Regions from separate parts of the Homo sapiens genome. Here regions 1, 3, 4, 5, 6 and 7 are each linked to region 2. Evidence: promoter capture Hi-C in human tissues and cell types (Jung and others, 2019). All regions are on one chromosome and are shown on one strand. Each heading gives the region's core, a stretch centred on a gene start or on the middle of the fragment in contact. The rest is flanking DNA. Distances are from core to core; before and after follow the strand shown. Region 1 overlaps ARFGAP3 (ARF GTPase activating protein 3). Region 2 holds the start of BIK (BCL2 interacting killer). Region 3 has its middle 51 kb from the start of A4GALT. Region 4 overlaps POLDIP3 (DNA polymerase delta interacting protein 3). Region 5 holds the start of A4GALT (alpha 1,4-galactosyltransferase (P1PK blood group)). Region 6 has its middle 14 kb from the start of CYB5R3. Region 7 has its middle 29 kb from the start of A4GALT.

Evidence for each region. Contacts are between HindIII fragments. The study calls those that stand out against the background at their distance.
Region 1: a fragment that was not itself captured here is called in contact with the fragment with the promoter of BIK in region 2 in 1 of the 25 tissues and cell types used here (dorsolateral prefrontal cortex).
Region 3: a contact is called between a fragment that was not itself captured here and the fragment with the promoter of BIK in region 2, in 1 of the 25 tissues and cell types used here (H1 embryonic stem cells).
Region 4: a fragment that was not itself captured here is called in contact with the fragment with the promoter of BIK in region 2 in 1 of the 25 tissues and cell types used here (spleen).
Region 5: a contact is called between the fragment with the promoter of A4GALT here and the fragment with the promoter of BIK in region 2, in 2 of the 25 tissues and cell types used here (lymphoblastoid cells and mesenchymal stem cells).
Region 6: a contact is called between a fragment that was not itself captured here and the fragment with the promoter of BIK in region 2, in 1 of the 25 tissues and cell types used here (lymphoblastoid cells).
Region 7: a contact is called between a fragment that was not itself captured here and the fragment with the promoter of BIK in region 2, in 3 of the 25 tissues and cell types used here (dorsolateral prefrontal cortex, pancreas and thymus).

What each region holds. Positions count from the first base shown.
Region 1 is chr22:42,797,672-42,801,281 of GRCh38, forward strand. ARFGAP3 (ARF GTPase activating protein 3) reads right to left here. Exons shown (of 16, transcript NM_014570.5): 15 at 1,368-1,489. Among named protein-coding and RNA genes, the nearest start is that of ARFGAP3, 58 kb to the right of the region's middle. RefSeq lists an enhancer at 1,872-2,166. The HindIII fragment of the contact is 4,920 bases long and covers 1-3,610 here.
Region 2 is chr22:43,109,467-43,113,422 of GRCh38, forward strand. It overlaps BIK (BCL2 interacting killer), which reads left to right and starts at 1,284. Exons shown (of 5, transcript NM_001197.5): 1 at 1,284-1,337. RefSeq lists silencers at 1,234-1,403, 1,934-2,153 and an enhancer at 1,351-1,909. The HindIII fragment of the contact is 22,290 bases long and covers 798-3,956 here.
Region 3 is chr22:42,769,723-42,773,423 of GRCh38, forward strand. No RefSeq gene overlaps it. Among named protein-coding and RNA genes, the nearest start is that of A4GALT, 51 kb to the left of the region's middle. RefSeq lists a silencer at 1-44 and an enhancer at 1-26. The HindIII fragment of the contact is 5,875 bases long and covers 1-3,701 here.
Region 4 is chr22:42,606,896-42,610,832 of GRCh38, forward strand. The region is part of intron 1 of POLDIP3 (DNA polymerase delta interacting protein 3); the gene reads right to left. It overlaps LOC124905127 (a long non-coding RNA gene), which reads right to left. Exons shown (of 2, transcript XR_007068118.1): 2 at 1,840-2,067. Among named protein-coding and RNA genes, the nearest start is that of POLDIP3, 6.0 kb to the right of the region's middle. The HindIII fragment of the contact is 5,591 bases long and covers 1-3,937 here.
Region 5 is chr22:42,718,482-42,722,499 of GRCh38, forward strand. A4GALT (alpha 1,4-galactosyltransferase (P1PK blood group)) reads right to left here and starts at 2,389. Exons shown (of 3, transcript NM_017436.7): 1 at 2,316-2,389. RefSeq lists silencers at 1,829-1,958, 2,039-2,268, 2,299-2,488. The HindIII fragment of the contact is 38,593 bases long and covers 1-4,018 here.
Region 6 is chr22:42,661,583-42,665,439 of GRCh38, forward strand. No RefSeq gene overlaps it. Among named protein-coding and RNA genes, the nearest start is that of CYB5R3, 14 kb to the left of the region's middle. RefSeq lists silencers at 525-664, 795-844, 885-1,164. The HindIII fragment of the contact is 5,947 bases long and covers 1-3,857 here.
Region 7 is chr22:42,747,708-42,751,418 of GRCh38, forward strand. No RefSeq gene overlaps it. Among named protein-coding and RNA genes, the nearest start is that of A4GALT, 29 kb to the left of the region's middle. RefSeq lists an enhancer at 866-1,427. The HindIII fragment of the contact is 7,860 bases long and covers 1-3,711 here.

The sequences.
Region 1 (3,610 bases), core at 279-2,778, 310 kb before region 2:
ATATTCAGCATCACCCAAATTGACACTGCAGCCCATGTCAGGCATGTGACATGGACGCTGCACCCCGAGGGTGTGCTCATCTGGAAGCAGCCATTGCTGCAGCTTCAAGGCTGAGGGTAGGTGTGGGCTTCAGAACCCAACAGGATTCACATCCTGCCTCTGGCATCCACGGCCACAGTCCTGGGATCAGGAGGCAGGGAGCAAAGTGGGCGGGAGGATGCTCAGTGGGCCAGAGGCAACTTGCTGAGCCCTCTGGGAAGCAAGTGGGAAACGGAAGACAAAGGAACACATTTGGTGTTTGAAGCCCTGAAATTTTGGTTCAGCTGGTCATCTTGCAGAAGTGACCTAACCTTCTGTGCCTCAATTCCTTCACCTGTAAAATGGGGATATAAAAGGGAGCCATCTCTAAAATGGGGATGACCATCTATAAAATAGGGATGTTACCTATTTGGACACTGATGTGGGCTTAGCTGACCTAAGGGACATGAAAGAGCTCTATGCATTTTAACTTCAGTGCCACATGAAAGGGAAGACTGTGCTATTCACAGCATGAAAACGGCTACATCCAGAGTCCTGGGGCTGAGGGAACTCTCCGGAATGGGTGCACCTCCACGCCCTCCTTGAACTGCAGCTAGAGCAGCATCTGCCTGGGGACCAGGAATCTCCTTTGGAGGCACCAGAGTCCACACGGTTTCAGTCCTACTTCCTTTAGCAGCGTTTTACATTAATACAATCCTTCTTCAATAGCCTGACGTAAACAAGAAGGTGCAAAGAAACGAGCCACTCATATCGTCACAGATGGCCTCGACTCTCATGCGCAAGTATGCGCCATCCTTGGCTTATGTTTTCACTCAATAGAATGTGGTTTTAGGAAAACTTTTCATTACAAGGAAATGCTCCCAGCATCACAGAGAAAAAGCAAGATATAAAACCCTCTATACAATATAATCCCTTTTTAACTTTAAAAAGATAGATATGTATATCTTTTTAATCTACGTATAGAAAAATATCCTTAGAAATCTAGAGCTAAAAATATACCAAAATATTAACAGAGGTTATCCCTGTGATGTGGCATTACAGATAATTTCAGTTTTCTTCTTAATACTTCTCTGTTCCAATCTAGGAAAAAAACTGGACAATGGTCATGACAATTCCTCTAACAATTCCCCTAGAGTCATCCGTTAGAAAATATTAAATATAAAATTATAATTTCTGGTTTTCATAATGTTCTGGGTTATAGTGTAGCAAACATATCGATCCAATAATATATAATTGAATTTTCCAGCAGTTGAAGATTGAAGCAGGTCTCATTTTCAAACTGCTGAACCTACCGTCATAGCCAGTGAGCACTGCCCCATTCCACTGACCTGAATTGAAGTCACGACTCCATTAGCAAAGACGGAGAGTTTTCCAGCAACCGATCTCACTCCCTGCTTGAACTGCGCCATGTCGGGGGCGTTGGGCAGCACACTGGACAGGCTGTAGTTCCCTGCACACACACAGCAGACACTGTCTCATCACTGCCCTGGCCACAGCTGCGGCAAACCCAGTACCCAGAGTGCTCAACGGCTCCAGAGAACCCGGATCTCTCCCCTCCTGCTGCCTCACAAGGGGCCCAACAGTGGGATGGAGACTCGGGCTGAAGTGGCAGCCCTGCCATGATCCACATGAGAGAATCCACACGACAGAAAATGTAGTATGGGGGACTTAACACCACTATGAGTTCAAATCCTGGCACTGTCACTTCTAGGCTGTGTGCCTCTAGAGAAGTTCCTTGCTCTCTCTGGGCCCATTTCCTCAAGGTGCTTAACATAGCCCTGGCAGGTAAGTACCCAGCAAAAGGCAGATGGGCCAACACGGATGGCCTGTTTCTCATCACCTCCTCCCTCTTTTGGTAACAGTACTCCTCCCTTCCTCCAGGAACCACCTCTCCCTTCTACCCTGTCCACAGGCATGGGCACATGACCCAGGCCTGACCAATCAGAGCCTTCCCAGGGATTCATGTATCCTCAAATGAGAAGAGCCATTTGCTTGCTCTGGGGTTATTGGCAGGGACAAAGCAAAGCAGCAGCCATCTGTGACTACGACTGCCCCTCCCACTCGCTTGGGGTATGGAGGAAGCTTGTTACCTCCCCCAAGGAGGTGAGCCAAATAGATGCATCACTGATGCTGTCTGACTGTGACTTAGAAGCCAAGCTCCACTGCCAGTCTTCCCAGGTACAGAAGTTCACACTTCCACCCTCTTTGCTAGGGCCGGTGTTAGTGGCCCTAAGTTTTGTTAGTTGTTAGTTTTGTTAAGTGTTAGTTGCTTAAGTTTTGGTTGCCCTGATGTAAACATCACCATAATTGCTACCAATCTGGGTGAAGTTCATCAGGGTTATCACACATCAAGGAGGTCTGACCACACTCCTAGAGCTGACAATCAGGGGTTCATAAACTTCTGTGTCACAATTGTAATAAGACGCTGGAGGGGCTCAGTGAGCTCAACACAAACCCTGCAGGTCCTCAGGAGTAGCCACGCCCAGCTACTCCCTAAGCCCCACATGACACCACCTGCTCCTTACAAAACAGAAACCCACCAGACGCAGTGGCTCACGCCTGTAATCCCAGCACTCTGGGAGGCTGAGGTGGGAGGATCACTTGAGGTCAGGAGTTCAAGACCAGCCTGGCCAACATGGTGAAACCCCATCTCTACTAAAAATACAAAAAATTAGCTGGGCATGGTGGCACACACCTGTAACCCTAGCTACTTGGGAGGCTGAGGCAGGAGAATCACTTGAACCTGGGAGGTGGAGGTTGCAGTGAGCCAAGACTGTGCCACCCCACTCCAGCCTGGGTGACAGAGCGAGACCCCATCTCAAAAACAAAAACAGAAAGCCTTGGTCAAGTCCCTCTCTGAGAATAAAACAGAACTGACAAGTTACCCTGCAACGTGTCCCTTGGAAGAGACACTGCATTTGCCCCCAGCACTGTTCCCATGCCCACCACAGATGCAGGTCCTCCCATCTCCACCTCCAGCTGACTGTCTAAAATCTTGTAGGCCTTCACCAATGACAGAGTGTAATTCCAACACAGTGATGGGACTGGGGTGCTGTGTCTCCTCTGAGGGCTGCCTGGGCAGGCTGGAGGGGCCGGGTGGCCATGGTCAAAGACAGCCCTAGTGTGCTCAGGTTACACAATGAGCTCCAGGAAATGACAGTTCCAGCCACCTGCTCAGGAAGAGCGTCCTTGACCCAGGGAATCTCTCCTCCCTATCTTTTCCCAGAACACCCACAGTGTGTACTGAGGACACAGCTACAGACCTGCTTTTCCACAGCTCACCACCTACTGGGGAAAGCAGACAATTAACTGATAACATCACTAAAGTGTGACCTGTGTCATCTGGAGGGGACACAGAGCAAACTCAGGTAGACAGCTGGGAGGTGGCTGCAGGGGTCCAGGTGCATGGGGCGGTGCCTGAGCATGAGGAGGCGGCAGTGGGGATCAGGAGGGAACGGGCTGAGCGTCCTCAGGAGGCAGGTGTCAAGAGGCACACTGACTGACTGGCCTAGGCAGGCTGAGAGGCAGGCGGATTAAGGATGTTTCCCAGGTTTCTGCTTGGGCAGCCAGG
Region 2 (3,956 bases), core at 34-2,533:
ACGTTGCAGTGAGCCAAGATTGTGCCACTGCACTCCAGCCTGGGCAACAGGGCTAGACTCTGTCTCAAAAAAACAAAAACAAAAACAAACAAAAAAACCCCACAAAAGCAAAGAAGGTCCAGAGCCCGGAAGGCGGGAGGGGCTCTGAAGACTTTATCACACTTTACCTCCTCTGTTCCTCCCAACAGCCCAGCTCTTGGTAGGTGCTGTTGTCCATTTCACAGATGAGAACATTGAAGGGGAAGTAATTACCCTAGAGGTGGGAAGAACAGAGTGAGGGTACCCAACAGGTAGCAAACGACAGAGCTGGGGGAGGGGAACCCCTGTCCCTGCCCCTCCCCTAATCTCTGAGGGGATCAAGACAGAAGTAAACAAGCTTTGCCGTGCCCAGGACAATTGTTACTTTGTTATTCCAGGAGCGCTCTGCCTTCTCCCACCCCCAATATACCCCAGGGCTGGAGTTAGGTCCTACCCATCCCCGCGTAGCAGGCTGCCCACCCGCCCACCCCGCCTGGAAGCTTTCTGATTTCTCTGTTCGCCCCGCCAGGCGCTGTGGGGTCCGTCTCACCAGGTCTGCACGTGAGCCCCCTGCCCCCAATCCCTCCCAGTCCCGCCCGCCTCTCGCGGACCCGGAGCCCCGACGGGAGGGGGAAGGCAGTGGGTGTGTCATGCAGCTGGAAGGCTGCGGACGGGCGGCAGTGGAGGGGCAGCCCCCTGGCTTCGGGTATGGATCACTGGATGCTGCTGCTAACCAAATGTGAACCTCGGTTTTCATATTTGTGAAATAGGCTTTAAAACACCTAAATCCCAAAGCTGCCAGCCTAAGGAGCACACGTCTTTGAACGCTGGCTTCACGCTGTCATTTAAGTCATTTCGTCCTCTTGGAGCCTCGGTTTCCACGTGGGTAAAATGATCGTGAAAAAAAGCACCGAGGAGTACTTTGAGCTCGAACGGAGGCCATCCGTGTAAAGGGCCAGATTCTGTCAATGGATCGATCCCCCCGATATTGATGGAAACCCCTGAGTGCACGCCCGTGCTGGGCGCAGGGGAAACAGCGACGCACGGGACAAAACAAGCTTGCAGAACAGCAGGGGGCAGAGAGGCTGTAAACAAGCCAACGGGCTGCACTTGTAGCGGTTCTGTTGCCAATGCCATTCAGACCCCAGTCCGGGATTCCGCGCTCGGGGTGCGAGAGGCCGCTCCCGGGGAGGGGCGGGACCCGGGCGGGGCGGGAGGGGCGGGGCGCCCGGGCCTATTAGGTCCCGCGCCGGCAGCCGGGCCGCAGACACGAAGCCTCCCGGGTGGCTTACAGACGCTGCCAGCATCGCCGCCGCCAGGTGAGTGCCCCCGACCCTGCTGCCGCCCGCTGCTCCGCCCAGCTCGAGCCCGGCGGTTAGCGCCCAGGCCGCGGCCCGGGTGCCGAGCGGCTGGAAGTGTGGGGAGCCGTGCCCAGGTTTTACCGCTCCAGCAAGTCGCTGGCGGGGCGACGTCTCGGGACTCCGGCTCCGAAACGTACCCTCTCTGTCCGGGGCTCCAGGTCCCCGACGGGCGATCGTGCCAGGCGCGGCCCCTGCGGGCCTCAGTCTCCGCGCCTGTGCAATGGGGTGGTCCCTCTGCGTCTCGCCGCGACGGCTGGACGCCCCATCGCCGCCGCACAGTCCTCCAGTGCGGCTTCCGGGCACCCGGCTCCGAACTCTGGGGTCGTGCGGACCCGGCCAGACCGTAGCGCGGCAACGCCAGCCCACGGCCGCGGCCGCACAGCCCCGGTGCCCTTAAAAGAGGGAAGATGGCGTCGTGCCCGGTGCCGCCGGGACCGGCTCCCGGAGGCGCTGCGCACCTGAGGAAGGGCCGAGGAAAGGCTTCGTAACGGGACGCCCAGAAAGTCCGGAACAGGAACGTGCACACGGAGCGGCGCGCAGCCGCCCGCCCTCGCTTGCCCACGCGCCCTGCACAGGTGCGCCCCAGACTGGGCGGGGACTAGAGCCCGGCTGGGGCATGCGACCTTGTTTGGTAAATTGGAGGTGCGCCCCTGCGGGTGACCCGCGAGGGGGCCCCCCGCCTGCGGGGCGCGGTCACGACAAGGCTTGTGGGGTTCGGAGCTGGTCGTCGTCTGGGCTCTGGCCTCCTAAATGCGATCGCTTTCAAGCCCTTCATTGTCAATTTTGCTAGAATGAGCCACTCGTGGGGTAGGACGTGGTTGTTGATGTTACTGTTGTAGCTCTTACTATTGTAACATTTTTGTTGCTGTTTTAACGCAGTGTTTACTGTGGTCTGGGAGCCCGAGCTTCCCAGGGAGCATTGGTGTCAGCCTCATGTCCCCGCATTAGGAGGAGCGCAGTCTGGTGGGCACTAGCGCCGGGAAGTTCTTAACATCTGTCTGCCCCTGGGAGCAGGAGGCCTCATCTTCCAGGTGGAGAAACAGAGATTTCAGTCCCAGGAGGCACAGAAATGCCAGGGTTGTCTAGCTAGAAGCCAAGGGCCCTTTATGGAACCCAAGCCAAAACCTCTTTCCACTCTCCAGCCCTGTGGCCTCGGAAGGGCCACTCCATCTCTCTGAACCTCAGTTTGTTCTGTTCACTCTGCAAAATGTATCCCTGAGGTTTCTGGCCAGGTGAAAGCCCCTCTCAAGTTAGTAGCCTCCCTGGAGTTAAGACTCACCCCGATTTCTACTTAATTTGGGCACGCCTTTGGAATAAGTTCTCAGGAATGGCACAGTTTGGGTGTTTTTTGTTTCTTTTTGTTTTTTTTTGAAACAGAGCTTCGCTCTTGTTGCCCAGGCTGGAGTGCAATGGCGCCGTCTCGGCTAACTGCAACCTCGGCCTCCTGGGTTCAAACGGTTCTCCTGCCTCAGCCTCCTAGTAGCTGGGATTACAGGCGCCTACCACGAGGCCCAGCTAATTTTTTGTATTTTTAGTAGAGATGGGGTTTCACCATGTTGGCCAAGCTAGTCTCGAACTCCTGACCTCAGGCGATCCACCCGCCTCAGCCTCCCAAAGTGCTGGGATTACAGGTGTGACCCACCCCGCCCGGCTTGAGTGTTTAAATACTCCTGCCTCAGCCTCCCAAGGTGCTGGGATTACAGACGTGAGCCCCTATGCCTGGCCCTTTTTTTTTTTTTAATTGTCTTAAGGATGTTAAGACTAAGATTCTCACACATTTGACTCGTGCCTGTAATCCTAGCACTTTGGGAGGCTGAGGCAGGAGGATTGCTTGAGCTCAGGAGACTAGACTGGGCTAGACCAGACTGGGTAACATGGTAAAACCCTGTCTCTACCAAAAATACAAAAAATTAACCGGGCATGGTGGCATGTGCCTCTGGTCCTAGCTACGCAGGAGGCTGAGTTCAGAGGCCTACCTGAGCTTGGAGGGGTTGAGGCTGCAGTGAACCCTGATCATGCCACTGCACTCTAGCCTGGGAGACAGAGTGAGACCCTGTCTCAAAAAAAGGAGCATTAGGCTGGGCATGGTGGCTCACATTTGTAATCCTAGCACTTTGGGAGGCCGAGGGAGATGGATCACCTGAGGTCAGGAGTTGTGAGACGAGCCTGGCCAACATGGCAAAACCAGTCTCTTTTAAAAATGCAAAAATTAGCCGGTCGTGGTGGCGTGTGTCTGTAATCCCAGCTACTTGGGAGGCTGAGGCAGGAGAACTGCTTGAATCTGGGAGGCAGAGGTTGCACTGAGCGGAGATCACACCATGGCACTCCAGCCTGGGCCACATAGGGAGACTCTCTGTCAAAAGAAAATTTAAAAAAGCATCAAATGGTAGATCCCCAGTGTCTGTTACAGCTTGGGTACTCTATGGCTGGATAGAGAGGCTGCATACATGTTAGTTATTGTAAGTTTGTTTGTTTTTTTGAGACGGAGTTTCGCTCTTGTTGCCCAGGCTGGAGTGCAATGGCTGGGAATACAGGCGTGAGCCACCTCACCCGGCTCAAGATTCTTACACATTTGAC
Region 3 (3,701 bases), core at 1-2,500, 340 kb before region 2:
GGCCCTGGGTGCCTGGACAAACAGGGGCCTTCCCAAGCAGGGCGTCGTGGTGTAGACAAGGGCAGCCAACCGTGCGACAAGGAGGACAGCCACAGGGCAGCGGAGAGGAAGTGAGAGCTTGTGGGAGAGGTCATGTCCGGTGCGGGGGCGAACGGGGCCCCCACAGCCCAGGAGCAGGCCTCAGGGCACAGGGCACAGGGCACAGGTGGGTTCTCAGCCCGGCTGGGCGGCACCCTCTCTGCCCAGCGCCCCTGCAGGACCCCGCCGACCCGGCGGGACCAGCACAGGTGTCGGGCAGAGGGAAGCCGAGGAGCCCCTGATGTCTGGCTGCCGCCATCCGTCTGTCCGTGCTGGGCTGCAGCTGGCGTGACCTCCGCTGTGCTCCTGTTTTCGGCGAGACCAATGACTCACGCGAGCAAAATGATAAGAACCACAAACAGGGAACGCGGACGGGAGTGGGAGGGAGCAGAAGGCACGTGGTCCTGTGTAAATCCATCCCGGGACGCAGTGCAAACAATGGTCTCTGAGCCCACGTAACCACGCAGAGCGGGACGTTCCGGGATCAGTGGGGAGAGTCAGCTCCTTCCCGAGCCAAGCAGCAGCTGCGTGGGGGAGGGTCGCAATTATTTATTTTTGAGACAGGGTCTCGCCCTCTTGCCTAGGCTGGAGTGCAGAGTTACGATCACAGCTCACTGCAGTCTCGACCTACCAGGCTCAAGCGATCCTCTGGCTTCAGCCTCCCGAGTAGTTGGGACTATAGGTGCATACTTTCATGCCCAGCTAATTTTTTTTTCCCCAGTTTTTTGTAGAGATGGGGTCTTACTATGTTGCCCAGGCTGGTCTTAGACTTCTGGGCTTAAGAGATCCTCTTGCCTTGGCTTCCCAAAGTGCTGGGATTACAGACATGAGTTACCATGCTCAGCTGGGGAGGGGTGCAATTTTTATTTTTATCTTTATTTTTTTGAGACGGAGTTTCACTCCGTCACCCACGCTAGAGTATGATCTCGGCTCACTGCAACCTCCACCTCCCGGGTTCAAGCGATTCTCGTGCCTCAGCCTCCTGAGTAGCTGAGATTACAGGCACCCACCACCATGCCTGGCTAATTTTTGTATTTTTAGAGACAGGGTTTTGCTGTGTGGCCCAGGCTGGTCTCAAACTCCTGAGCTCAAGCGACCCCCCTGCCTCGGCCTCCCAAAGTGCTGGGGTTACAGGCGTGAGCCACTGCGCCCGGCTCTGAGGTGATTTCCTAATGCTGCATTTTAAGAGAGAATTTGTTCCTGGGAAAGGCTGTGTGTGTAAGACGAACCTCTGTCTCCCACTCCTCTCTCTTTGCTGACCCGATTCCTCTTGGCGCAGAGGTTCAGAAACATCCCCTGGCCCTCACTGGCTTCATCTCAAGAACAGAAGTACAATAAGTACCTTTTCCGCACCACTGCCTGAGCCCTCAGTCCAGCCTTCACCGGTTTCCACCTGGTCCTTGGATTGTCGTTATCACCTTTTTCTTTTTTAATCGATAGATCCAAAATGTGTTTTGTTTAACAAATATTAACTAACATCTTTCATATACTAAGCACTCATGCAAAATGATTACATAATAAAACACAAAAGCTGAAAGATGAATGGGCCAAGAACACACACTAAACTCACACACACACACATCTGTGCACTCAGGCAGGGGGAATGGGCCCACCAGATGGGACCGGCCACCCGCCCCACGGCTGAGGGAGCCTGCCTGGCAGGGTCCAGCACTGGGCCCAGCATCCTCCCTGAGACACCTGTGGCTGCTGGGCCCTAAAAGCATCAGATGGAAAGCTTGGGAAGGAGTCCCAGTGAGGCCTGGGGTTGGACGGTGCTGGGGAAACCCACGTTCATACGTTTGGAGTTAGAGAGAGCCACCTAGGGCTGCCTTTCACTCACCCTCCATGTGAAATGGGAATATGACCTGCTGGGAGGGTTTCTGGAAGACGGAACGACCACACAGCAACCGGTCGAGTCCAGGCCCCAGCCTGGAGCAGGCTCTCCCAGTGTGGGAAGTTTGTTGATGTCTTTTTCTGAGACAGGGTCTCGCTCTGTTGCCCAGGCTGGAGTGCAGTGGCACAATCACAGCTCACTGCAACCTCTGCCTTCCTGGGCTCAAGTGATTCTCCCACCTCGGCCTCCCACGTAACTGGGACCACAGGCATGTGCCACCACGCCCAGCTAATGTTTGCATTTTTTGTAGAGACAAGGTCTCGCTATGTTGCCCAGGCTGTTCTTGAACTCCTGGGCTCAAGCGATTCGCCTGCCCCAGCCTCCTAAAGTGCTGGGATTACAGGTGTGAGCCACCGTGCCCGGCCCCAGTGTGGGAATTTCCTACGGACACTGCTACAGATGGAACTGTGACATCACCAACCCCATCTTCAATATTCCTATCCCCTGAGTGACTGTATTGGCGATAAGGTGTTAGAAGGACACAGGGGAGGGCCCTTCCACAGGAAGAGGAACAGGTACCGGAGAGCTCTCCCTTCCCCTCTGCACACACAGAGGAAGGCCATGTGCGAGGGGGGCCACCTACAAGCCAGGAAAAGAGGCCTCACCAGAAACCAACCGCGATGGCGCCTTCATCTTGGACTTCAGCCTCTGGAACTGTGAGAAAATAAAAGTCTGTTGCTGAAGCCCCAGTCTGTGGGATCTTGTCACAGCAGCCTACCCTCCCGGAGACTGACCTACACATCTTCCCCTCCCCTCCCCTCCCTTCCCTTCCTCTCCCCTCCTCTCATGTCCCCTCCCCTCCACTCCCCTCTCCTCCCCTTCCCTTCCTTCCCCTCCTCTCATCTCCCTTCCCCTCCCCTCCCTTCTCCTCCCCTCCCCTCTCTTTTCCTCCCCTCCCCTCTACTCTCCTCTCCCCTTCCTTCTCTTCTCCTCCCCTCCCCTCATCTCTCTTCCCCTCCCCTCCCCTCTCCTCCCCTCTCCAGGCACAGGCAACCCAAGGCTAGAGATGGGACAGGAGGATGGGGTGAGTGGGAGCAGCCTGTGAGATCCCCTGGAGAGGCCTTGGTGGGGCTGAAAGAGGAGCAGAGGTGGGAGTAGGCACAGGGCCCTACAATTGTAGGAGAACTCCAGGCTCCCCGCTTGGCTGAGCCGATCCTCCACCCCCAGCCCATCAGCAGAGGCCCACCTGCCCCTCTCATCTCATCTCCTGGGTACTCCAACTGGCTAAACAACAGCCCTACCCCCAGTGCTGTGCCTTTGCACATGCTGCCACCCCCATCCCCGCTCCTCCTGCTCTATTGTGGCAGCCTCTCCCCAAAATGCAACCCCAGGGCCCTGCCCTCAGAAGGCCTCCTGGACCGCCAAGCCCTCATGTGGCCCTGCTGTCCGTCCCTGCAGCCTCCGTCCCTGAGCCTAGACCCTGAGCCTGGCCCGACAAGGATCTGGAGAACATGACATCACAGTTGATACAACAGAGTCTCCGATGGCCCGACCCAGGCAGAGACCTCGGATCTCTGTGGAAGGACGAGGTCTGGAGAGCAGCCCCTCCTCTGGGAGGGAATCCCAGGGCAGCCGTGCCTGTCCCCTGTTCCCTCAACCCCCTGTAGGGCTGGCCCCAGCCTCTGTCACACCCTTATCTACTCCTGCTGGCATTGCCTGGCAGCGGCGGGGAACCAGGCAGACATGAGCAGACACCGTCTGTGTCCACTACACACTCCTGCTGATGCGG
Region 4 (3,937 bases), core at 1,015-3,514, 500 kb before region 2:
GGTTCAAGCATCAATTAAATAAGCATGGGTCAAGAGTAAACAGCAGAGCTGGAAGAGTTAAGAAAAAAACTTCTAAAAAATAAAAAACACCAGGAGCAGTAGCTCATGCCTGTAATCCCAACACTTTGGGAGGCCAAGGCGGGCAGATCGCTTGAGCCCAGGTGTTCGAAACCAGCCTGGGCAACATGGCAAAACCCTGTCTCTACAAAAGATACAAAAAAAATTCCCTCCCCCTCCCCCTCTCCCCAGTTTCCCTCTGATGCCGAGCCGAGGCTGGACTGTACTGCCGCCATCTCGGCTCACTGCAGCCTCCCTGCCTGATTCTCCTGCCTCAGCCTGCCGAGTGCCTGGGATTGCAGGCGCGCACCGCCATGCCTGACTGGTTTTTGTATTTTTTGGTGGAGACGGGGTTTCGCTGTGTTGGCCGGGCTGGTCTCCAGCTCCCGACCGCAAGTGATCTGCCTGCCTCGGCCTCCCGAGGTGCCGGGATTGCAGACGGAGTCTCGCTCAATCAGTGCTCGTTGCCCAGGCTGGAATGCAGTGGAGTGATCTCGGCTCGCTACAACCTCCACCTCCCAGCCGCCTGCCTTGGCCTCCCAAAGTGCCGAGATTGCAGCCTCTGCCCGGCTGCCACCCCGTCTGGGAAGTGAGGAGCGTCTCTGCCTGGCCGCCCATCGTCTGGGATGTGAGGAGCCCCTCTGCCCGGCCGTCCAGTCTGGGAAGTGAGGAGCGCCTCTTCCCGGCCGCCATCCCATCTAGGAAGTGAGGAGCGTCTCGGCCCGGCCGTCCATCGTCTGAGATGTGGGGAGAGCCTCTGCCCCGCTGCCCCGTCTGGGATGTGAGGAGCGCCTCTGCCCGGCCGCGACCCCATCTGGGAACTGAGGAGTGTCTCTGCCCGACCGCCACCCCGTCTGGGAGGTGAGGAGCTTCTCTGCCCGGCCACCCCGTCTGGGAAGTGAGGAGCCCCTCCGCCCAGCAGCCGCCCCGTCTGGGAAGTGAGGAGCGTCTCCGCCCGGCAGCCGCCCCGTCTGGGAGGGAGGTGGGGGGCAGCCCCCGCACAGCCAGCCGCCCTGTTCGGGAGGTGGGGGGCGCCTCCACCCAGCCACCACCCCGTCTGGGAAGTGAGGAGCCCCTCTGCCCGGCCGCCACCCCGTCTGGGAGGTGTACCCAACAGCTCATTGAGAACGGGCCATGAAGACGATGGCGGTTTTGTCGAATAGAAAAGGGGGAAATGTGGGGAAAAGAGAGATCAGATTGTTACTGTGTCTGTGTAGAAAGAAGTAGACGTGGGAGACTTCATTTTGTTCTGTACTAAGAAAAATTCTTCTGCCTTGGGATGCTGTTAATCTATAACCTTACCCCCCCCCCCAAAAAAAAATTAGCTGCAAGTGATGATGCACATCTGTAGTCCCAGCTACTCAGAAGGCCAAGGCAGGAGGATCAACTAAGCCCAGGAGGTCCAGGCTGCAGTGAGCCAAGATCACACCACTGGACTCCAGCCTGGGAGACAGAACAAGACCCTGTCTCAAAAATCAAAACAAAACAAAACAAAAAAAAACCACCACCACCAAAACAAAAAGAAACAATCTTCCTTATCATTATTGTCTGGTATTTCAGTTTCAATATGTTGTTAAACCCTTAAAAATTTATACATATATATAAAGGAAGGATAAACAGTCCGCAGGCTGAAGAAATCTTAGGACTCCGGTCATGCCCAGGGATACGGAGCACTCTCTAGCGACCAAAGGGTGAGCACAAGCAGCGAGGCGAGCGGGTGGTGCACGCACTGAGAACTCGCATACCACAATGCCTGCCTGGCAGGAAGGACCACCAAGATGCTTTGTGCTGGCATTTTTATCTATTTGAACAGCCTAAAAGGCACATTTAGGGGTGGGAGTTAACGGTAGTTGAGGATGTAGTAGGAGCTCCTCACGGTGGGAGGGAGTAAGCTATTTCCCTCAATCTGATGCACTCAGTTCCCTGGTTCCACCAGTGCTTTCAACTTCTTTCGTGAACAGCTTGAGGGGGCTTCAGTGTTCAGGCTTTTTATAATCACAGCTGCTCTTCCTGCATGAAAAGACAGCTATTCATCCCAGCAGGCAGCAGTACTGGTTTCAGGCAGGCATTAGTCATCGGAAATTTTTCAAATCAACACTCCTGCCAGGGGTAGGTCTCTAAAACACAGACTCAATTATGTTACCCTCCCGCTTCTAGAACTGCTGGGGGCTCCTTTACAAAGCCCAACCCCTGGGGGGGCCTCGGCTCTGGCTCCAGCTTATGGCTGCAGCCTTACTCCCCACTGCAGTGACTACTGACGTTCCCAAAACACATCCTGCACTTTTATCCTCAGTAAATGTTTGGGAGGGCGAAGGAGGAAGGTTTTGACTGAGTCTCGTAATGCCCCACCTCCATCGCACCGAAACTACAGCTCTGCAACTGCTTCCAGGGCTTCACCAGGTATTCCGCGAGGTCCTGGCAAGAGCGCTGCTGGCAGGTGAGAAGGCAAACGTTCCCTGGACCCCAAATTCTCTCCTCTATACCCCCTACGGGAACCTGGCATAGGTGTGATGACCAGGGAGGGTCTGTCTGGGCTATAGGAATATTTCACCCTCCTGGCTCTGTCTGGGGAGGGCAGGGCTACAGCCCATTCTGGACAGATGTCCAGTCCAAAAGATTCAGGCCCATGAAGTGGGGCCCTGGATTATTATAAAGCAGATTTTAACCCATGGGTTTAAAATCCTCTGGGTTATGGGAGGCAGAGGTTGCCATGAGCCAAGATCGCACCACTGCACTCCAGCCTGGGTGACAGAGCAAGATTCCGTCTTATAAAAACAAACAAAAAAAGCTTCTGGGTTAGGGGGTGTTCGTTTAGGTGTGTGTTTAGGTCATTTTTATAGAGAGAAAACAGCTTAATTCTAACTATGACTGAGGGTCAACTCTGAATTAGGTGTTTAAGAGACACAAAGAAAAACAAGACACTAAAATACTATCCCCTGCTGGGCGAGGTGGCTCACGCCTGTAATCCCAAGCACTTTGGGAGGCTGAGATGGGCGGATCACTTGAGGTCAGGAGTTTGAGACCAGCCTGGCCAACATGGTGAAACCCTGTCTCTACTAAAAATACAAAAAATTAGCCGGGCGTAGTGGCCCATGCCTGTAGTCCCAGCTACTCAGGAGGCTGAGGCAGGAGAATCGTTTGAATCCAGGAGGTGGAGGTTTCGGTGAGCTGAGATCGCGCCATTGCACTCCAGCCTGGGCAGCAAGAGCAAAACTCTGTCTCAAAAATAAATAAATAAAATAAAATACTATCCCCTTACCCAAGAGTCTTGTGCAGATGTTTCATTTTAAAACATAATTCGTTCCCTAGAGTTATGTAATAACTCATTTCCTCCCTTTTGTGTTTAGGTCTTTATTTCCTTTATCTTATTTCAACAAGGAAACAAGCAGTCAGTACCAGGACCAGAGTCCTGGGCTGAACTGCAAAGTTTACAATCCACCCTGTCCCCCAACAACCTCCCACTTCCAGCTCCAAGGACTCCCCAGATGAGGCGTCTGGCCCAGAGAGCTGCTCAACTCCAGCCTCCAGCACATTCAAGGCTGCCACACTGAACTGCTTGGAGGCAGCTGACAGAAAGCTATCCGCTGAGGGTTAAACTCATCGAACTAACAAAAGCGGACATGTCAACTGACTTAACTGGGGATGCCCTCATATCTAAAGGAAGAAACTGCTGGGCACAGTGGCTCACACCTGTAACCCCAGCACTTTGTGAGGCAGAGGCAGGAGGACTGCTTGAGTCCAGGAGTTCGAAACCAGCCTGGGCAACATGGCGAGACCTTGTCTCTACAGAAAATACAAAAATAATTAGCCAGGCATGATGGCATATGCCTGTGGTCCCAGCTACCTGGTAGGCTGAGGCAGGAAGACTGCTTAAGCCCAG
Region 5 (4,018 bases), core at 1,139-3,638, 390 kb before region 2:
CTCGAACTCCTGACTTCAAGTGATCCACCCGCCTCAGCCTCCCAAAGTGCTGGGATTACAGGCGTGAGCCACCTCGCCCGGCTGGAAAAACGTGTTTTTAAAGGTCTGGCAAAAAAAAAGGCAAATGTTAACAATAGTTGTCTTCAAGTATGCAAACAGGAATTGTTTTTCCTACTTCTTTCGGTTAATTCATTCAAACAATATTCAGGAAGCACCTGCTAGGTGCCAGGCCTGGCACTAGGCTCTGGGATCTGGACAAGGGTCCTTCCCTCCAGGAGCTTCCAATCTGGAGGGAAGCATGCGGTGAGCCAATGAAAATGCAGGGTGATCAACAGGAGTTTGTGAGCACGCCTAGCAGGTCCCCAAAGAAGGAGGCAGCTGGGGAGAGTGAGAGGAGGTGCACTTCAGAACTCAGATGGCTGGCTTGGTGGTGGAGGCCGTCCACCTGCCACCACCTTCCGGGACCTGCATCCCCAGCTGAACTGCATCCTTGGAGGTCTGAACCCAGTGGCCCCGTGGCCAGGTGGGCTTGGGAGTTGCTAGCTGGGGCTGATGTGGTAGTTCACAACCTCCTGGTGTTCCACACAAACCACCTGGAGATTCTGCCAATCCTGCTCCACACTGGGGTCCCAGGGCCCATCACACGAACTGGAAATTAATGGACCCATTAACCTAGCAGCTAGAGGGCTTCAATTAGTACAAGGAAACAAAACATATTTTGTAGATGGCTGTCCATTTTGGAGTTTATCCTCTAATACTGAGCTGTCCTAGCAGACAAGAAACGACAGGCACCCAAGGCATTAGAAAAATGTTTGAGAGAAAAACTAATGACAACATTGGGTGTAGTGGTGTGTGCCTGCAGTCTCAGCCACTAGGGAAGCTGGGGTGGGAGGATCGCTTGAGCCTAGCAGTTTGAGACTACAGTGAGCTGCCACAGCATTCCAGCCTGGGTGACAGAGGGAGACCCTAAAAAACAAACAAACAGAAAACTAATGACAGAGAGGATTCCATCTCTCCTCTTCCTTTCTTTTCCTTTCTATTTTGTTTTCCTTTGTATTCCTTTGATTTGGGGACCCTCTTTTGGGGGGTTGCAGCTATGGAAACACAGTGTAGCAGGGTTTCGGGTCCTGGAGAAGGTTTGAGGCTGGAAGAGGGCTGTGGGAAATCTTGAGGGAGGCCTGGCTCCATCCGCACTCTGCTATGGGACCCTGGGCAGGGTGGCTCCCTCATTCTTTGGGAGGAGGTGACAAAGGGGAAGTCTTTGGGCAGCTGGTGGCGGGAACGGGAAGGCCAGACCTGGCCTGAGACCCACCAGGTGCTCGGGGTTATTTGCTGAGTGCAGGGTACGTGACCCCAAGGGGCCTTCGCGGAACAATCACTCGACGTTGGCGGAGGGGAGGAAGCCGCAGAGAGGGTGTCGTGAGGGAAAGGTGGGTGCAGGGGAAATGGCGCTTTAACCCACTCAGGGCCAGAGGCTCAGCCGAGACTATCCAGGTGGGAACTTGTCCCTCCGGATGACAGGTGATGAAACTGAGGGAAGGGGACTCGCCCTGGCAGTGAAACGGGATGGGCGCTGGGACCAGGTGCCCCGGCAGATCCTCTCCCAAGCCCAGTTCCGCTCCCGCTCAGTCCTCAACCTTCCCCAGCTGGAGAGGAGGGAGGGGCGCCTGCGGATCCGAGGCGAGCGCGGAGGCCGGGCGACTCCAACCGGCTCGCCCCGTGCCCAGCTCGTACCCAGGCCGTTTCCCGCACGGGGAGGGCCCTTCCCGCTTCTGGGCAGGTCCAAATCCTCACCCTCCCTAAGGCCGGCGCCGACGCTGCCAGCCCGGCAGAGCCCCCTCCTGCCGGCCGCTCTCCATCCCCGTCCCCGGTCGCATCCGCTCCGGGGCGAGCACCGCCCGACGCCCAGGCTTCCCCCGGACGGAGGAGCGCGACTCACCCACGGTGGCCGGGCAGAGCCTGCCTCGAACCCGGCTTCTCCCCGACGCCCTCTCTCCAGCCCCGGGACCCAACCGGGTGGGGCTGCCCTCGAGGGCTCCGGAGCCAGGCGCGTCCTGCCCGCGAGGGCCGGGGCTCCGGGTCCCGCCGCCGCGCTCCACTTCGGGGCGCAGTTGGGGTGGAGGCGGTGGCCGGGACCGCCGCGCGGGGTTCGTGCGCGCACAAATGTCGCCTCCAGAACAGGTGGCCCGGGCTAGGGCGGCGGCCCAGCCCCTCCGCCCCTGCCCCTGCCTTCCCGAGGCGCCTCCTCCCCACTGCGAGCCGCAGGATCCCCCTGGAGCCCCCGTCCCCCGCAACATCGGCGCGGCCCCTCGTACCTCTAGCTCCAGCGGCGGCGGGCGGCGGACAGCGGGGCCCCGGCGGGCGGGCGGCGCGGCGGCCGGAGGGCAGTGCCTGGGGCCCGGCGGGAGGCAGCACCGCCCCTCCGGCCCGGGGCGGGGTCAGGCCGCCCCGCCCCGCCCGTCCCGACCTACCCTGCGGGTCCCGGTCCCCAGAGCCCTTGCGGGGTCCCCGCGACCCCGCCCGCGCGCCCTCGCTGCTCCCCGGGGCGGGTGCGGACAGTCCCCAGTCCGCCGGCCAACAGGTAGGGAGCGCTCCCCGGCCTCCGCGCCGCCAGTATTACGGGTTACCATCCCGTTTTCCCCATTGAACTGATGAGAAAACTGAGGTTCAGAGGGTTGAGTACCTCGATATTCTGCAGTGGAGAAGGGACGCTGTCACCCCTGGGACCCGGGTCGGCCTGATCCCACCGCCTCCTGCCGGGACCGTGCTAAGGGCATTGCCTGCATCACCCCAGTGTTTGCGGAATTCCAGTTATTTGCTGTATCCTTAACGCCGCCCCGTCCTTTCTCTACTCCTCCTCCTCACTCTCACCTCGCCCCATCTTCACACATATTGCTATTGGTAATTTGTTCAATGTGAGAAATTGGAATGTATCACACACAATTCGTGTATCATAAAACTGTATTTTATTCTCTTTGGAACATGCCATGTTTCCAGCATGTCACAGTCCTGGTGCTTTTAGTTCTTACTCCTCTGGGACAACAAAGACTGCAAAAAATGAAACCATTGGGTGACTTCTTGAGTGCTGACGCCCATCCTCTCACTCAGCTGATGACCCAGTGCCCAAGCCACTGAGAAAATGGAACCTCTATCCTAGCCCTGAGAAAGAGCCTGGCACTCAATGGGTGCCCAATAAATACACTTCGAATGAAGGAATCAGTAGAAAATTCCCACCAGCTCCCCCACCCACCCGCTGAGGTAGCACCCAGTCCCTTCCCTCTTGGGACCGGGCTGAACCCGTCCAGCTCCTGGCCACGACCACCCCCTCCAGAAGATCCCGACCCTTCACGCCAACACTGATCCCGAAACCCTGCCCTCTCTCCATTCTCCCTGGGTCATTCCCATCACAGGCTGTTACTTCTCCCATCTTAAAACGGAAACAAGAGGCCAGGCAAGCACTCACGCCTGTAATCCCAGCACTTTGGGAGGCCAAAGCAAGCAGGTCACCTGAGATCAGAAGTTCAAGACCAGCCTGGCCAACATGGTGAAACTCCATCTCTACAAAATACAAAAATTAGCTGGACATGCTCACTTGAACCCAGGAGGTGGAGGTTGCAGTGAGCCTAGATCATGCCACTGCACTCCAGCCTGGGTGACAAGAGCCAGACTCTGTCTCAAAAAAAAAAAAAAAAAAAAAAAAAAAAAGAATGAATGCGGACCCTTTCTCCACTGGTAATACTCATTTTTTTTTTTTTTTTTTTTTTTTTTTGAGAAGAGACTCACTCTGTTACCTAGGCTGGAGTGCAGTGACACCATCTCGGCTCACTGAAACCTCTGTCTCCTGGTTTCAAGTGATTCTCCTGCCTCAGCCTCCTGAGTAGCTGGGACTACAGGCATGCACAACCATGGCTAATTTTTGTATTTTTAGTAGAGACAGGGTTTCACCATGTTGGCCAGGCTGGTCTTGAACTCCTGACCTCAAGTGATTCACCCGCCTCAGCCTCCCACAGTGTGGTGA
Region 6 (3,857 bases), core at 1,267-3,766, 450 kb before region 2:
TCCAGCCTGGGCAACAAGAGTGAAGCTCCGTTTCAAAAAAAAATTATTTATTTTTAAAAATTGAATTAACTTGGCTGGGTGTGGTGGCTCACCCCTGTAATCCCAGCACTTTGGGAGGCCGAGGGGGGAGGATCACCTGAGGTCAGGAGTCCGAGACCAGCCTGGCCAACATGGTGAAATCCCTGTCTCTACTAAAAATGCAAAAATTAGCCTGGAGTGGTGGCGCATGCCTGTAATCCCAGATTGCTTGAACCCGGGAGGCGGAGGCTGCAGTGAGCGGAGATCACGCCACTGCACTCCACCCTGGGCGACAGAGCCAGACTCTGTCTCAAAAAAAAAAAAAAAAAAAAAAAAAAAAAAGGAGAGTTGTATTATTATTTGTAGATGAAGAAAACTGGTTCTGTCCAACCAATGCAGAATAGATCTCAATGGATCTTTGAGCGTCCAGAAATAGACCTAAGTGTAAAAGGGGGCATTTGCAGTTGAGTAGGATGGGCTGGGTACTGTCGCCAGGTCTGTAGTCCCAGCAATTTGGGTGCGCTTGATGTCAGGTTCCGGCCTCCAGGGGGCGCGCCCGAGCCAGGAAAAGGCTCCCGGCGCCCGGGGCGCGGGTCCAGCCGGCTCCATCCGAAATCTCCACTCCCACCGGCTTCGGCTGGGGGTTCTGCCGCTGCTCTGCTCCAGCCGAGCCCCAAATCCTGCCTCCTCTACCCCTTCCTCGGACCCAGCCCGTGCCCACCTTGGGTCCCGGCAGCCTGGGAGGGGTGCGCCTCTTGGGGCTCATCCCCCACAACCTCCACGCTCTGGAGGTGTTCAGGTTCCTTCGAGTCCGTGTCCCCGAGCCCCGCGCCGCTACGGGGAGCCCTGCAGACGCCTCGGTGGGGAAGAGAGGCCGCTGTCCCGGGATAGGTGCTGCCCCTTGGGCTGCGGGGCTCCGCGGAGAGCGGCCGAGAGAGCGGGAGCCCGGGCCGGGCGGGCCGGGGTGGACGGTCGTGGGGGCTGCCGGGGAGGCCCGGGAGCGGGAGGAGGTGACGGTCGGAGACGGGTGATTCTTGTGAGGGCACGCGGAGCCGGGGCGGGATGGGGGCCCTACCTTGTCCAGGCGCCCTCTGGATCCGGGTCTGCCTCGAGGCGGCGGAAGCCCCACGGGGCGCTGGGCGGCGCCCTCCCCTGCCTTGCCCTCGTGGGGTTACTCCCCGCAGAGCTCCCAGCTGGCCCCCCAGGACTCGTGGGGGTGAGGGGAGGGGGATGTGAAGCTCCCGAATGGAGGCCGAGAGGGCAGCGGGGCAGGGGATGCTCAGGAGTTCAAGTCCAGCCTGGGCAACATGGCAGGGCCCATCCCAGGGTGTCCAGGGCAAAAACAGTTCCCGCTCATGGGCTCAGAGAGGTCACGCCTGCCCCTGCCGAGGACAGAGCCTGTCACAAAGAAAACGGCACGCTCTGGAAGTTTCTTCCATCCCTTTCCACCTCCTCCTTCAAAACAGAGTCTGCGTCCTTTTGGCCGGGCTCGGTGGCTCACGCCTGTAATCCCAGCACTTTGGGAGGCTGGGGCAGGCAGATCACGAGGTCAAGAGATCGAGACCATCCTGGCCAACATGGTGAAACCCTGGCTCTACTAAAACTACAAAAATTAACTGGGCGTGGTGGCGCATGCCTGTAGTCCCAGCTACTTGGGAGGCTGAGGCAGGAGAATCGCTTGAACCCTGAAGGCGGAGGTTGCAGTCGACAGAGATCATGCCACTGCACTTCAGCCAGGTGACAGAGCGAGACTCTGAGACTCCGTCTCAAAAAACAAAACAAAACAAAACAAAACAAAAGAAAGACAGGAGCTCCTCCCCTTCTATAATTACAAACTTTTAACAGTTTTCCCTCAGGTTATCATTTTTATTTCATGAGAAAGTTCTGGCTAATGAGAACCCAAAACCCAAAGGAGGTGTTGATTTCAGGCACAGTGCCAGGTGCCTCTAATCCAGCCAGGAGCTAGGGGCTGCTCTGGGAGCTGCTGGGTGAGGAAGGGGTGTTGGGGGTCTACGCGTTTAAATCCCTATTAATGCCAGGCGCAGTGGCTCATGCCTGTAATCCCAGCACTCTGGGAGGCCAAGGTGGGCGGATTACCTGAGGTCAGGAGTTCGAGACCAGCCTGGCCAACATGGTGAAACCCCATCTCTACTAAAAATACAAAAATTAGCTGGGCTTGGTGGCACATGCTTGTAATCCCAGCTTTCAGGAGGAAGAGGCAGGAGAATCGCTTGAGCTCAGGAGGCGGAGGTTGCAGTGAGCTGAGATTGTGCCACTGCACTCCAGCCTGGCTGACAGAGCGAGACTCTGTCTCAAATGAATAAGTAAATAAATAAATAAATCGCTGTCAGCCATGGAGCCAGGCCTAGGTGCTGAGCCCAGTGGCGGTGGGAAGATGGGTTTTCTGAGCACAAACTCTGGGTTGAACCGTTTCCCAGGGAGCTTCCTGCAGAGTCTGAGCAGGTGAGGACCAAGGAGGTGAGGCCCAGGCCGATTCAGCTGGAGGAGTACACGCTGCTGCAGGACCTCAGCCATCTCAGGCCACCTGTCCTCCTGGGCCTTTCCCGTCACTGAGGCCACCTGTGCCTTCTGTGAAACACTGCCCCATTAGTTCAGAGTTCAAAGAGGGGGCTGTTACTGAGGCCGGAGGGGCCTGGGCCTGGGCTCTGACACTGATACTGACCTTGAGCTGGTGACTTAACTCCCTGAGCTTCAGTCTACTTGTCTATAAAGTGGGAATAATTCTACCTACTCTATTCCCAGCAACCTTTTTCAATGGCCCAAGCCTCAATTGTTCTCATCTGTAAAATGGGCTTAACCATGGCCTTTCCTGTGTATCTTACAATTTTGTAATTAAATCCATCCATCAGTTATCAAATAATAGTAATAAAGAAATGAGAGGCTGGGGCAGTGGCTCACGCCTGTAATCCCAGCACTTTGGGAGGCTGAGGCAGGTGGATCCCTTGAGCCCAGGAGCTCAAGACCAGCCTGGGTAACATGGTAAAACCCCATCTCTACAAAAAAATACAAAAACTAACCGGGCACGGTGGTGTATGCCTGTAGTCCCAGCTACGTGGGAAGCTGAGGTGGGAGAATGGCTTGAGCCTGGGAGGCGGAGGTTGCAGTGAGCCAAGATCGCACCTCTGCACTCCAGTCTGGGTGACAGAGCCAGACCCTGTCTCAAAAAAAAAAGAAAAAGAAAAAAGAAATGAGACTGCTTGCTATATGACTGGCACTGTGTACGTGCCTTAACTCATCCATTTCTCCTGGCCACCCTGGGAGGAGAAAGCCTATGTTACTGCCATCCCACAGAAGAGAAAACAGACCAGTAATTCACACACTCAGCATCACACAGGTGAACGTGCTGCAGATGCAGGCAGTCTGGCCTCACTGGCTGCCGCCCTCTACCCAGGCTGCCTCCCTGTACACAGGCTGCCTCCCTGTGCCCAGGCTGCCTCCCTGCGTACAGTCCACCATGCCAGGGCCCGGAGCATGGTGGCCCTCAATAAATAATGGTTGAATGAATGACACTGCAAAAGTGCCTGTAGGGTGGAGGTCCAGCACAGCTGCTCCGACGTACCCAGGTCAGACTGGAGTGGTCTGAGGGCATCCACACACCATCCTGCTTGCTGAAGCAGGTGAGTACCACAGGTTTTGCATTGTAACATGCAAATGATGGCATGTATTTCTATCCTCATCTGAGATCTGGGACTTTTATGGGTTTCCTGGTATTCACAGGGCAAGGCCTTTGGGAGAAAGCTTGAAACCCCCTGATGTAGTTGACAGAGCATGAGTTTATCCTCAGAGAGACCACAGTTCAAATCTTGGCTGGGTGACTA
Region 7 (3,711 bases), core at 1,072-3,571, 360 kb before region 2:
CACCTGAGGTCAAGGGTTCGAGACCAGAGACCAGCCTGGCCAACATGATGAAACCCCATCTCTACTAACAGTACAAAAATTAGCTGGGCCTGTAGTCTACAATGCAAAATGGTCCCTGCTGACACTCTTCTTGTCTAGACCTCTAGGGTGTGACTCTCCTGGGCCTAGGGTTTGGCTAAGGCTGGTGTCATAGGACCGACATATTTGCATGCCTGTTGCTCAGTAGCAGACCAGGACACTGAGACAGCAGGGTTTGCAGCAAAGAAAGAGTTTAATGATTGCCGAGCACAGAGCAAGGAACTGGGAGGGGACCCTCAAATCCACCTCCAGAGGAGTTCCGGGCTGGGGCTTTTACGGGGATCCTATAAAGAAGTCAAGGGGTTGGAAAACTGGAGTCATTGATTGGTGGGGGCAGGGAGATGAATTCGTCAGGATGTGGAAATGGCTTTTTTTTTTTTTTTTTTGTGAGTCAGTTCTTTGTGGGATCTTTCAGACTAGCTGGCGTCAGTAGTTTCATCCGGATGCAGGCCCTGAAAGAATATCTCAAATGCAAAAGTGAACGTTTCATGACATACAAGTGGCTGTCTACAGAGCAGTTAAGGGGTGTTAGCATCCTGCGACAGGGTCTGTGTGATTCTGAGGCCGCCACAGGCACTGCATGGCTGTGAGGCAGCTGGTCAGAGAGCAGGCTGCTCTCAGAGCTCATGCTGAGTAGCTTGCAAGCTTGGCTTGTTTCCGTTTTTCCCTCCTCTTCCCTGATTACTTTTTTTTTTTTTTTTTGAGATGGAATCTGGCTCTTGTCGCCCAGGCTGGAGTGCAGTGCCGCAATCTCAGCTCACTGCAACCTCTGCCTCTTGGTTCCAGCGATTCTCCTTCCTCAGCCTCCCGAGTAGCTGCAATTACAGGCGCCCATCACCACACCCAGCTAATTTTTGTGTTTTTAGTAGAGACAGGGTTTTGCCATGTTGACCAGGCTGGTCTCAAACTCCTAACCTCAAGTGATTTGCCTGCCTCAGCCTCCCAAAGTGCTGGGATGACAGGTATGAGCCATTGCACCGAGCCCCTGATTAATTTTATAAATTTTATAAGGAGTTTCCCTGGGACCCCTATCTCCAGGGTTTGGCTATCCTGGGCTCCCCTGCAGCTACATTCCCAGGGTCCTCCCATCTGAGGCTAGGAGGGGCCTCATCCCTTCCGAGGCTTAGGTGGGGAGGCTGCCAATCCCTCCCCTCCGCCTGCACCTGCCTCTAACCCACTGCCCTCCTGCTTGCCCCAGCCTAATCCTCTGAGGGAGCCCCAGTTTCTGCCACTCCAGGGTGTGTGGGTGCTGGCCAGGGAGGCTGTGATCTGGTTGCCCGCTCTGTCTGCTTTCCCAGAGACAAGCGAGCCGAAGGCCTGGCCTCTTTGTTGGGATGGGAAAGAGAGATGCCCCCACAGCAATGAGAAGCGCTTGGTTATTATCCCAGTCGGCACCAGCTACTCCAGGCAACTGCGCTTTGCAGCCTGCAGGATGCAGGCTCAGGGACTCGAAGAGGACATTCTGTGGCCTCCCCAGTGGCACCACCCTCTCCTGGCAGCTAGGGATCCACCCTCCCCAGCCATGTAGGCCTGGTGGCTGGCTCTTAACCTCCCATGCCAGGTGGGGGTGCCCCTGCACTACTGTCCGTCCTCAGGCTGGCTGCTCCCACTCCCATGGTCCCTGTGTTCGCAGCCTCACCACTGGCAGAAAAAATAAGCATCACTGGTTGGGCGCGGTGGCTCATGCCTGTAATAACAGCATTTTGGGAGGCCGAGGCAGGTGGATCACTTGAGGTTAGGAGTTCGAGACCAGCCTGGCCAACATGGTGAAACCACGTCTCTACTAAAAATACAAAATTAGCCAGGCATGGTGGCACATGCCTTTCAAAAAAAAAAAAAGCATCATTTCATCATTGCATCATTGCTGGGCACAGCTCCTTCCCAGGCAGGTCTGAGCTTGTTGCCCAGGGTAGGTTCCCAATACTCAGCAAAGCCTTTGCTACTTCTGTGCTTCCTTACAGTGTGGGCCTCACAGAGTTGTTTTTTTTTTTTTTTTTTATGGAGTCTCACTCTGTCACCCAGGCTGGAGTGCAGTGGCACAAACTCGGCTCACTGCAACCTGTGCCTCCCAGGTTCAAGTGATTCTCCTGCCTCACCCTCCCGAGTAGCTGAGATTATAGGTGCACAACACCACGCCCAGCTAATTTTCTTTTTTATTTATTTATTTATTTATTTATTTATTTTTATTGATCATTCTTGGGTGTTTCTCACAGAGGGGGATTTGGCAGGGTCAAAGGACAATAGTGGAGGGAAGGTCAGCAGATAAACAAGTGAACAAAGGTCTCTGGTTTTCCTAGGCAGAGGACCCTGCGGCCTTCCGCAGTGTTTGTGTCCCTGGGTACTTGAGATTAGGGAGTGGTGATGACTCCTAACGAGCATGCTGCCTTCAAGCATCTGTTTAACAAAGCACATCTTGCACCGCCCTTAATCCATTTAACTCTGAGTGGACACAGCACATGTTTCAGAGAGCACAGGGTCGGGGGTAAGGTCACAGATCAACAGGATCCCAAGGCAGAAGAATTTTTCTTAGTACAGAACAAAATGAAAAGTCTCCCATGTCTACCTCCCTCTACACAGACACGGCAACCATCCGATTCCTCAATCTTTTCCCCACCTTTCCCCCCGCTCCATTCCACAAAGCCGCCATTGTCATCCTGGCCCGCTCTCAATGAGCTGTTGGGCACACCTCCCAGACGGGGTGGTGGCCGGGCAGAGGGGCTCCTCACCTCCCAGCAGGGGCGGCCGGGCAGAGGCGCCCCTCACCTCCCAGACGGGGCGGCTGGCCGGGCGGGGGGCTGACCCCCCCACCTCCCTCCCGGACGGGGCGGCTGCCGGGCGGAGGGGCTCCTCACTTCTCAGACGGGGCGGCCGGGCAGAGACGCTCCTCACTTCCTAGATGTGACGGCGGCCGGGAAGAGGCGCTCCTCACTTCCTAGATGGGATGGCGGCTGGGCAGAGACGCTCCTCACTTTCCAGACTGGGCAGCCAGGCAGAGGGGCTCCTCACATCCCAGACGATGGGCGGCCAGGCAGAGACGCTCCTCACTTCCCAGACGGGGTGGCGGCCGGGCAGAGGCTGCAATCTCGGCACTTTGGGAGGCCAAGGCAGGCGGCTGGGAGGTGGAGGTTGTAGCGAGCCGAGATCACGCCACTGTACTCCAGCCTGGGCGCCACTGAGCACTGAGTGAACCAGACTCCGTCTGCAAACCCGGCACCTCGGGAGGCCGAGGCTGGCAGATCACTCGCGGTTAGGAGCTGGAGACCAGCCCGGCCAACACAGCGAAACCCCGTCTCCACCAAAAAAATACGAAAACCAGTCAGGCGTGGTGGCGCGCGCCTGCAATTGCAGGCACTCCGCAGGCTGAGGCAGGAGAATCAGGCAGGGAGGTTGCAGTGAGCCGAGATGGCAGCAGTATAGTCCAGCTTCGGCTCGGCATGAGAGGGAGACCGTGGAAAGAGAGGGAGAGGGAGACCATGGGGAGAGGGAGACCATGAGGAGAGGGAGAGGGACAGGGACAGGGACAGGGAGAGGGAGAGCTACTCCCTGTGTTTGATTCCCCTCCAAGAGCCCTAATTTTCATCTTTTAATAGAAACGGGGTTTCACCATGTTGGCCAGGCTGGTCTCGAACTCCT